Linked DNA regions of Homo sapiens: all the other regions are linked to region 1. Evidence: promoter capture Hi-C in 16 types of primary human blood cells and fetal thymus (Javierre and others, 2016). All regions are on one chromosome and are shown on one strand. The core of a region is centred on a gene start or on the middle of the fragment in contact, and the rest is flanking DNA. Distances in the headings are between cores, read along the strand shown. Region 1 holds the start of SYNE1-AS1 (SYNE1 antisense RNA 1). Region 2 holds the start of MYCT1 (MYC target 1). Region 3 has its middle 270 kb from the start of SYNE1-AS1.

Region 1 (3,258 bases), core at 558-3,057:
CTTGCTAATTGGTCATTGATTTTCTTCTTGAACATTTTTGTGCCTGATTATCTTTTATTTCTATTTAATCCGGTAGTAAAGTCATAATTTTGTAATAATATTAACAAAATCCTGCCTTTAGCAATAGATATGTAAATATATAAACATCGGATGATTATTTCACCAAGAAAAATTTTAGTAAGAGAATCTATTCTCAGAAATGCTGCAATTATATCAATTTAACAATGTGATTTAATTTTATCTTGTTTTCCTTTACAGTATTTGTGTGCTTTAAGATCGAGCTAAATTGTTAACTTGGCTATAGCTAAACTGTTAAATTTCTAGTGACTTTTTTAAGGTAAAAAAATACTAATAAATGTACTCAGTCTAGAGGTTACTTTAAACTTTTGAGTAAGTCAGTCTATGAATGAATTATTCATTTTATATGCTACAAAAATGTTTACTTAGTATTGAGGTATTTGGAATCGAGTAGGGCTCATTCTTTTGCTGTGATGAGTCTGCTTGATTCCTAGTAGAATGGAAGTGTGATTTAAGCCACCACCCTGTTGAAGAAGATGAATTGAGTATAGAGACCGTGAGCAGAACACAGTTCTGCCACGATCTTTATTTACTTGAGCATCCACTTTGAGGGAAATATGGGTTTAATCATTCACAGGAGCAATCCACCACAGGCAAACACTTGAGTCACTAAACATTTTCACGTGTGCGAATAATGCCTGATTTCAGGGTCTCTGTTTAGTCTGTTTCAGGATATTGAGGATTCTCGGGATTTTTTTGCCATAAGCCTTAGGCACTCGTGATGACAACTCCCGCTATTATAATTTAAGAGTGGACAGATGAATTGATTCTGGGTCCTTGTGGCACACTTGTTAAAACTTCCTGGCAGGACAGGGTCCCCCTGTGTACACAGTTGAAAACTTGCAGTCCAAGTGACTCACAGGCTCTTCAGTTACCATGGTGATATTCCATTACAGGAGCTGATAGATTCCAGAGAGATTGGTGCAAGCCGTCTCAGCAGAGTGGAGTCGCTGGCTCCCGAAGTGAAACAGAACACAACTGCCAGTGGGTGTGAGCTCATGCACACGGAGATGCAGGCCCTGCGTGCCGACTGGAAGCAGTGGGAAGACAGTGTATTCCAAACGCAGAGCTGTTTGGAGAACCTGGTCAGCCAGATGGCCCTTTCGGAGCAGGAATTCTCAGGCCAAGTGGCTCAACTGGAGCAGGCCCTGGAACAGTTCAGTGCCCTTCTGAAAACCTGGGCTCAGCAGTTAACCCTCCTGGAAGGCAAGAACACGGATGAGGAGATAGTGGAATGCTGGCACAAAGGACAAGTAAGTTGGCTTCCTGTTTTCTATTGGTGGTTATGCTTTAAAAAATGTTTTGACTTTCATCATTCCTTAAAAAAAAAATCTTGCTAACTAAAAACACGCAACATGCACACTTGGAAGAAGTATTTATCTCATTAAATAAGCAAAGTCTGATTTGTTTCCTTTTCTTATATATCAAACTTTTGTAAAAATAAAGATTTGGGTTATTATTTGCGGTAGGAAACATTTGTTGTTAGTGGAGACATTTTACTTTCATTCCTATGGTGTAAGAGTCTGTAATACTGTATTCAGCCATTCAGTCTGAAAAATGGCCTGTGGGCAGGGGCATAAATAGACAGAGAGTCATAGCTGTTTTCTTGCCAGTTAACTATTTCATACAACTAAATGATTGAATTTATAGCCTTAAAAGACTCACTTGGTAATCTCCTACAGCACAGCAAATAGTTATCTCCCCGATTAGCTCTCCTCTGTGTGGTTTTGACAGCTGTTCTTGAATTAGCCTGTTAACAGAACTCTACGTCACCCTCCCTGGTCACCTTCCCGAGACTTTTTTTTTTTTTTTGAAGCTAATGGCAGCTTCTTTAGAATGTGAGAAAGGGAAGCCTACAAGGGAGACCGAAGAATGAGCAAGAGTGTAACCTCTTCTTCGTTTCTTTCACTGTTAAACAGTATCTTTGAAAGCCTTTTCAATATTTCCAGTTTTATAATGCCCTGATTCATGGATGTCCTTAAAAGGAAATTTAGTAAACTTCTCTGCTCCTATTTATATTACAATCATTTCAAAATAGCTCCTGCCAGTAAGAAAGTCATGTAGTATTTCCAGCAGTGTCTGGTTTTAAATCAAGTATTTGAAACAAATGCAGCATGCCATAAAATAAAGCTTTCTACCTCTTTATGCTACTCTATTTATAATGATTCTAGGTTTGGGGGTTTGTTTTTGTTATTCTGTTCCATTTCCTGTCCTTTAGATTTATGTACCAGAATAAAGCATAGAAATCAGTTCTGTCACAGAGGGACAAAGAAGTTGATAATTGCTCTACATGGTATAATATGAAAAAATCAGTTACACTTTCTTGGTTCCTTTTTCTTTCCCTTTCTTTCTATTCCAGTCACAGAGTGAAATTTTTAAAAAGGAAAGATTTGGCTGTGCCTAGATTACATTACTATTCTGTTCATTATTTTTACGTTGATATTATTAGTAAAAATAATGGTTGAGGCCTATAAAAATATACATGAGAATGCAGTAGTAAATATGGGTTTTCAGTTGTGTTAAATAGTTCAAATGTGACAGCCCTCTGTGTATGTCTGCTTCCAGATTTGACTCCAGGGTCAATGCTTTTGATGACAATGCTACATTGCTTCTCAATATTCATGTTTTCTTTTATTTCTAATAATGGCATTTTATCTAAAAGTGGAGATATTTCTATCACAATGAATATGTAAGAAAATGTTAACAAAATAGTAAATATGCTAGGGTTCTTAGGGCATTGTTTTGCTTTTAGGGAGGACTTGTCATTGTTGATGATCACAATAAGAATTAAAGTATTTATTTTATGCAATTAGATGACAATACTCAAGAAATTCTTTAAAACATAAAAACAGATGATCTATAAAGTATATAATATAATATTGTAAAAATAATTCTATTTACTATGTTTGCGAAACTCATTTATCTTAATATCCTTTGGGATATTAGCTTTGGAAATAATTTTCTTAAGCTGTATAAGGTGGAAAGATGCATTCTAGAACTTAACAGAATCAGAAATACATAAGCTGATATTTATATATTGACTCTACTGACATACTTTAGGATGAAGTTATAGAAATGTTTTAAATGTAACGTTTTGGTCAAAAACTTTTCACTTTTAATGTCATCCCATTCATAAGTAACTGACTTGAATCTCCAGTATTTTTATGTTTTTGTTGAATG
Region 2 (3,258 bases), core at 300-2,799, 320 kb before region 1:
CTAGAATAATCTTTTTTCTTCTTCTTAATTCTGTTACATAAATTTATTAGGAGCTCACCAATATCCTTCCTTTTCAGTCTTCCAGCAAACATAAATGTAGGTGAGAAAAAAAGAATGAGTTAATTCTTTTTTTTCTTATGCTGAATTTTAATATCTTTTAAAACCAATAAATATTTGTCCCCACATTTTTCATCTAAGAAAGTACATAGGTTAAAGGACTGGAGTGAATTCTTTTCATGCAAATTTCTGTGATGGTAGACATATAGATTGCTGGGAAAAGTCGGCCACTACTGCTCACTGTTTATGTGAAAGTTCCCAAAACCCCACCTTGAATCACAGCAGAAAGTCTGAATTGTACACTGAGAGGATTAAAAACTTGTTCTGGCCATATAAACAGATCTGTCCATATATACTATTTTCTTCATTAAAGTGTTTTTCTGAATTTAATTTAAATTGCCTCCTTTAATATAAAAATTTCCCTGAACCCAAGAGTACATGTCAACTCCCCATGTGAGCCCATCTTCTTTGTACCTCTAACCTGGAGCAACTGAGTTTTGACCTCAGCACAGTCCCATTGTCAACATCAGGGAACACTGGACTGTTAGCTGTGGCTGGACTCAGACAAAAAATTCTCCAAAAAATACTTTTGTATTGTTCTTTCCCCCCAACCCCTGTGATAGGATTCCATTGAATGTTACACGTGATGTTATTTCCACTTAATCTTTTCTACTATAGTTTTCTCAAATTTCATATTATTCCATGTTTTATTTGTTATACTCTAAAGTCATTCATTTATTTTACCTGTGTTATTGCACTTTAAATTCACTCATTTAAGTACAGATGTTATTAGGATTCACTTTGGAAATTAAAGCATATAACATTCACAACATAAGTGAAAATAGCCTCTATGGAAAATCTCAGTTTCATAAAATAAAATATATAATCTATAACCTTCAAACAAATGAAAGTTAATTTTTCCAACAAAATCTACATGCCATATTCTAAGCAGGAATTACCTCCACCTTATGTTTTTTATTTTTATCCTCACTATTTCCTAATTATATTTTGTAACACCAGCCAAAATCTGTACTTAATACCCAGATTCTTCTTGAATATCTTCATAGAACACTATAAAGACAAATAAATATATAAGTATATATTTATATCTATAAATATATTTCTGCTAATAAACGTATGAAATAGATTTCTGTTAATAAACATGAAAACTTTAAGTAATCACATTATAGTAAACAAAATGTCTCAGAGATTTTCACTGTTTTAATAATCACGCAGTGCATTTCTTACATCCTAATTTTAAATTTTAAACAGTAAAAGAAAATACCTTACCCCAAAAGTTTTCTGGCCATGGACTCCCTAAACTTGTTGTGTTATTAGCCATAATATCCACAAGAAATAGAAGAAAGAGAAGAAAAACAGAAAGAAAAACCAGTATGTCGAAAAAAAGCAGTTTGATTCTATCTCTTTGTAGTACAGCAAGAGAAAAATAATTTTTACACAACCCCTCATATACTTGTGTTCGCATAAAAGGAAATAAGTGTATCATGTTTCCTGCTTTTATACTCAAATTAGCAACTGTTTTTCTTATCTTGGAATTCCACATGGTTCCTGAGACACAAAACAATGTCCTTTTCATCATTTCCTCAGCTAAGTTCCTAAGTTCTCTCCTCTCAGCCACCTCCAAAACTGCTTTTAGGATAACAGGGTTGTGTGTGTGTGTGTGTGTTTGTGTGTGTGTGTGTGTGTGTTTCCTCATCCCCTACTGACATGGAAAGGAAGACTCCAAACTCTCAGCTACAGCACCTTGAATTAAATGTATACAGAATTGAGAAATAGACCACGTTCCAATGCTTGAAAATTAAATTTATATAGTAAATTGGGGGAAAGGACTATTCAAAACTCAGATACTTACTAAATTCTTTGTTGTTGTTGTTGTTGTTGTTTTTGAGACTTAGTCTCGCTCTGTCGCCCAGGCTGGAGTGCAGTGGTACGATCTCGGCTCACTGCAACCTGCCCCTCCCAGGTTCAAGCGATTCTCCTGCCTCAGCCTCCAGAGTAGCTGGGATTACAGGCGCGTGCCACCACACCCGGCTAATTTTTGTATTTTTACTAGAGATGGAGTTCCACCATGTTGGCCAGGCTGGTCATGAACTAGGCCTGACCTCAAGTGATCCACCTGCTTTGGCCTCCCAAAGTGCTGGGATTACAGCCATGCGCCACTGCGCTCGGCCACTATATTCTTAACATGTCTGTTTCTCTATTTGGTATACAAATTTTGAAAGTTATTTAATTCATTTCATAAATATCTAAGTGTAATTTATATAAAATTTGTGTTACTCTTTACTTAGTATTTAGTATGAAAAAACAGTTTCTACATTGAAGAAATATATTTAAAATCAAGGAGGGAAAACATAAATGCAAAATTTTTCATTACAAAGTTTGTTAAGTGCTATAACAAAGGGTACAACGATCTCAGGAATTTGTTTTTTATAGAGAAGTTTGAGAACTGATATAGGAAAGAGTTACATGAAACATTTTGAGAAACACAAGTTAGTTAACATTTCAAGAGTCTTTCCTCAAGCTTTGCTTGTTTAGACTGGATCCTCTGAGGACTTTGGAGGCACTGGAAATTGTGAATAACGTGTCAAACTGCACCTAGTAACTGCGCTAAACTGCATTCCATGATCTGGCTTCATCAATCTTTGAGTAACTCTAGCCTGAACTCTTGCATATATCTTGTATTAATCATATTCTAACTTATTAGTCATTAGAATATGACTTAGTGCAAAGTAGTATTCCTCTTTGTGAAGTCTGTAATATATTCCTGAGTAGTTCTAAGAAAACAACAAAAAAAGACAGTTATATTAATTTTTGCAGTCCTGCTTCTTCCAAAATGAGGTTGTTTCTGATCAGTCTCATTTTTTTGTGAATTTAAGTATAAATTTATTAGAAATTAAAATATAAATCATCTAAGAGAATTATAAAACGTCATAGAAAATTTAGAGAATTCACTGAGCAAATATAAAGACTCACCTCTATAATATTCTTGCTAAAGTTTATTTTCAAATAATCCAGTAAATAAAAGCTCCTACTATTACTTAACAGACAAAAAGGGCTTACATTTCAACAGTTGTCTTTACTTTTCAATATTGTTAACAAAGTTCATAAAAATAGAAAATTAAAAGAACATGTTATTTCTGAAGAAAATGTAATCTGGATGAAAGTATATTGAAATACTAA
Region 3 (3,258 bases), core at 415-2,914, 270 kb after region 1:
TCTTTTTCCTTGGTAGATTCTAGTTAGTCTACATTAAGAAGGCCTTTTTTTATTTTAAGATTATGCAAAAGTTTCTTTGCATTTTCTTCTAGTAGGTCTATAATCTATCTGGAATTATTTTTGTCATTAGTATGAAGTAAGGAACTAGTTTGTCATTCTCCAAATGAATAGATAATTGTCCCAAAACCAATCAGGGACAAGACAGAGAGGCCCCCTGTTGTTATAATTTTCTAGCAACCTAGATGTTCATCAGCAGGAGGATTGTTGAATTAATTATAGTGCATACCTAGTATTCAGTATGGCGTAACTATTTTTATAAAATGAAATCAATCTATATGTATTGATTAGGGAAAATGCCTACTATATATTCTTACATTTTATAAAAACAAGATATAGAATAATATGATTCCATTTTGTAGGGAAAAACTCGTGTATATAGTAATGGCATGAAGCAAGGTGAAAGTTTGGAGAGACATGTGAAATATAAGGCTTGACATTTTGACTGCAGTCAGAGTGGGGAAAGCACTTTAAACATTTGTATTTAAATTACATCAAGGAGCATGACTTGTTTTTTAGATCCAAGTTGCTATAAGAATAATGATAATTTTAAAAGACAAAAGAAAAGTACTTCAGTTCTTATATGAGGAAACATTTGACTTGCTTTTTTTTTTTTTTTTTTTTTTTTTTGAGACGGAGTCTAGCTCTGTCACCCAGGCTGGAGTGCAGTGGCGCGATCTCGGCTCACTGCAAGCTCCGCCTCCCGGGTTCACGCCATTCTCCTGCCTCAGCCTCCCAAGTAGCTGGGACTACAGGCGCCCGCCACTACGCCCGGCTAATTTTTTGTATTTTTAGTAGAGACGGGGTTTCACCGTTTTAGCCCGGATGGTCTCGATCTCCTGACCTCGTGATCCGCCCGCCTCGGCCTCCCAAAGTGCTGGGATTACAGGCGTGAGCCACCGCGCCCGGCCTTGACTTGCTTTTTAATTAAAAAACTTTTCTTGGTATGCCCGAAATAAATGTTAACAAGTCATTTATTAAAAGTGGCCAAATTCTAATGGATGACTTTGCTCTAGGTTTTCATCTTAAATGCATGGTTGGTTTCATGGCATAAGAGCAAAGGCCTGATTTGAGGTAAGGAGGCTCCCTGACTGGGGGATTTATGAATCCTAGGAGATGAGCTTTCCTAGGAGAGATGTCCAAATGAGACCTACATGTTCACAAAAACCCGCAACTTCCTAAACTACCACCTGCCTCCAGAAGTCACCCTGCTCACAGGTGAAATCAGTTCTTGAGTCGCAGACTGGTCCCCAGAAATGATGGGGCGGGGAGGGACAGTGACTCGAAAGTCATAGGCAGCTTCTCTACCTGTACCTTTCTTTCCTGATGCAGGTGCCAGAGAGTCAGCCTGCTTTCCTTCTGCGTTGAAATCTGTTCCCATTCAACAGCTTCACACAGGATTCTGCCCACCCAAGCCTGGCTTGGGCACGGGGCTCAGTTCCTCCCTCCCACACCTTCCCTATGGTGTTTGCTAATCACAGTGGGAAAACTGATAGAGTAGCTAATGATCTGGACATTTATAAAATCCCTTTTGTCCAAATCTTACAGAGGCTCCTTCCATAACATAAACTCTGGAGCCAAAAATACCTTGGCTCAGTCCCCAGCTCAGCCACTTCCTAGCTGTATAACCTGAGCAACTTACTTAAACTTTCTATTCCTCAGTTTCTTCCTCTGTAAAATGGGATAATAATGGTGCCTCCTGCGTGGGTTGTTATGACGTTAATACATTAATGTATAGGATGTGTTGATGAGGACTGAGGGACAGTTAACGCTATTTTAGTCGTTCCTCTAGTTTGGTTTTGGAAATCGCTATTGGGAATTACCAGATCTTCCCACACTTGTTTTTAATCTTTTTTATGAGGAGAAAGTCTCTTAAAATTGTTAAAATTGTTGTTTCTTTCTTTTTTAAGATTGTGGTTAAACACACACACACACACACACACACAATATGAGATCTTCCCTCTTCACAAATGTGTCAGTGTACAGCTCAGTTCGTTACTTCTCAGCACAATGTTGTAGGGCAGACCTCTGTCTCAGACTCTCGACAGCCCTGCGGTAACTGAGGACTCAGCCAGTGGGAATGGAAAGACTCCCTCCCAGATGAGTGCATTTCCCAGGCCCTCCCTTTCCAGGTGCCCCCCGCCCCATGCAGAGGACCACCTGTCAGGGACTCTTACTCCTTTCATCAGGAGGGTACCTGTGGCTTGATGGTGCCTGACAAAGGTCAGGGAATTACAGTCCCTGCCTGTTTTTATAGGCCCTTGAGCTAAGAATGGGTTTTATATTTTCAAAGAATTGTAAAGCAAAGAGAGACAAACAAACAAACAAACAAACAGAAATGCCTAAACTACTTACTCTTTGGCCCTGTACAGAAAAATTTGCTGACCTGTGATAGAGCCACCCAAGACACACAGCACTGGCGGCAGGGTGGGACAGGCAGCGCCCCGGCCTTTTGCGCTTCTTTCTCCTGAAACAGTTCTCAGAATGGGCATCCTCTTTGGGTGAGCTCAGCACTCGCCCCACCTCCATCTGACTGCCATTTGGGGTTCTTCCCTGAAAACACGTTCGTGACATCCATCCATGAAGAATTCTCTCTTTCATTTTGATGTTCCCTTTTTGTTTTTTCTTGGATTCTGTAGGGGGTCTTGGGAACAGGGACTTCACGTTTTTGTCTTCAGAATGGAAATGGCATGGTCTTTTGCAGTGGGCTCAGAAGGTTCTGCAAATCCCTTGGCCGCTTCCAGTTTCCCTTGTTCGTTTCCTGGTTGGGCGCCTGCCAGGTCAGCTGCTGGTGCTGACATCAGGAGTGCCAGTAGCTGGCCCCTCTGCAGAGTTTCGTTCTGGGGCTGGGTATGTCCCTCCGGCAAGGAGAGCACATAGGTGGTTTCCCAGAGCTCGGTGGGAATGGGCAGTGTGGCACCAGGATGGTGACATAGTTTGGCTGGTGATAAACCTTGCTTATTCAGGGTTTTCAATCCTTTTGATTGGCTTGATGGGATCCCGGGGGCATTGTTAAGCCCTTTCTTCCTTTGGTGGCCTTTGTGTACTCCAGAGGCCTAAATATCCCTGGTAGCTGCTGAGGTCTTGAATCTCCAGTGTCACAGAGTTGCTGGGGAAAGGAGGAACTCACTAGTCGGGGACACTTGACTTGAAATGAGATACAGGAAATTTGAAAGGGCATCTATTTTAACTTTCTGCTTC

The links. Contacts are between HindIII fragments. The CHiCAGO score rates a contact against its expected background, and 5 or more counts as called.
Region 2: a contact is called between the fragment with the promoter of MYCT1 here and the fragment with the promoter of SYNE1-AS1 in region 1, in 1 of 17 cell types (endothelial precursors). The highest score is 5.3, in endothelial precursors.
Region 3: a fragment that was not itself captured here is called in contact with the fragment with the promoter of SYNE1-AS1 in region 1 in 1 of 17 cell types (neutrophils); the score reaches 6.5 in neutrophils.

The regions. Positions count from the first base shown.
Region 1 is chr6:152,379,079-152,382,336 of GRCh38, reverse strand. SYNE1-AS1 (SYNE1 antisense RNA 1) reads right to left here and starts at 1,807. Exons shown (of 2, transcript NR_120501.1): 1 at 1,744-1,807; 2 at 624-1,277. It overlaps SYNE1 (spectrin repeat containing nuclear envelope protein 1), which reads left to right. Exons shown (of 146, transcript NM_182961.4): 56 at 975-1,331. The HindIII fragment of the contact is 6,155 bases long and covers 1-2,210 here.
Region 2 is chr6:152,696,188-152,699,445 of GRCh38, reverse strand. MYCT1 (MYC target 1) reads right to left here and starts at 1,549. Exons shown (of 2, transcript NM_025107.3): 1 at 1,348-1,549. The coding sequence starts at 1,543. The HindIII fragment of the contact is 10,649 bases long and covers 1-2,601 here.
Region 3 is chr6:152,112,320-152,115,577 of GRCh38, reverse strand. It overlaps a transcript of ESR1 not described here. Among named protein-coding and RNA genes, the nearest start is that of SYNE1-AS1, 270 kb to the left of the region's middle. The HindIII fragment of the contact is 6,058 bases long and covers 1-3,258 here.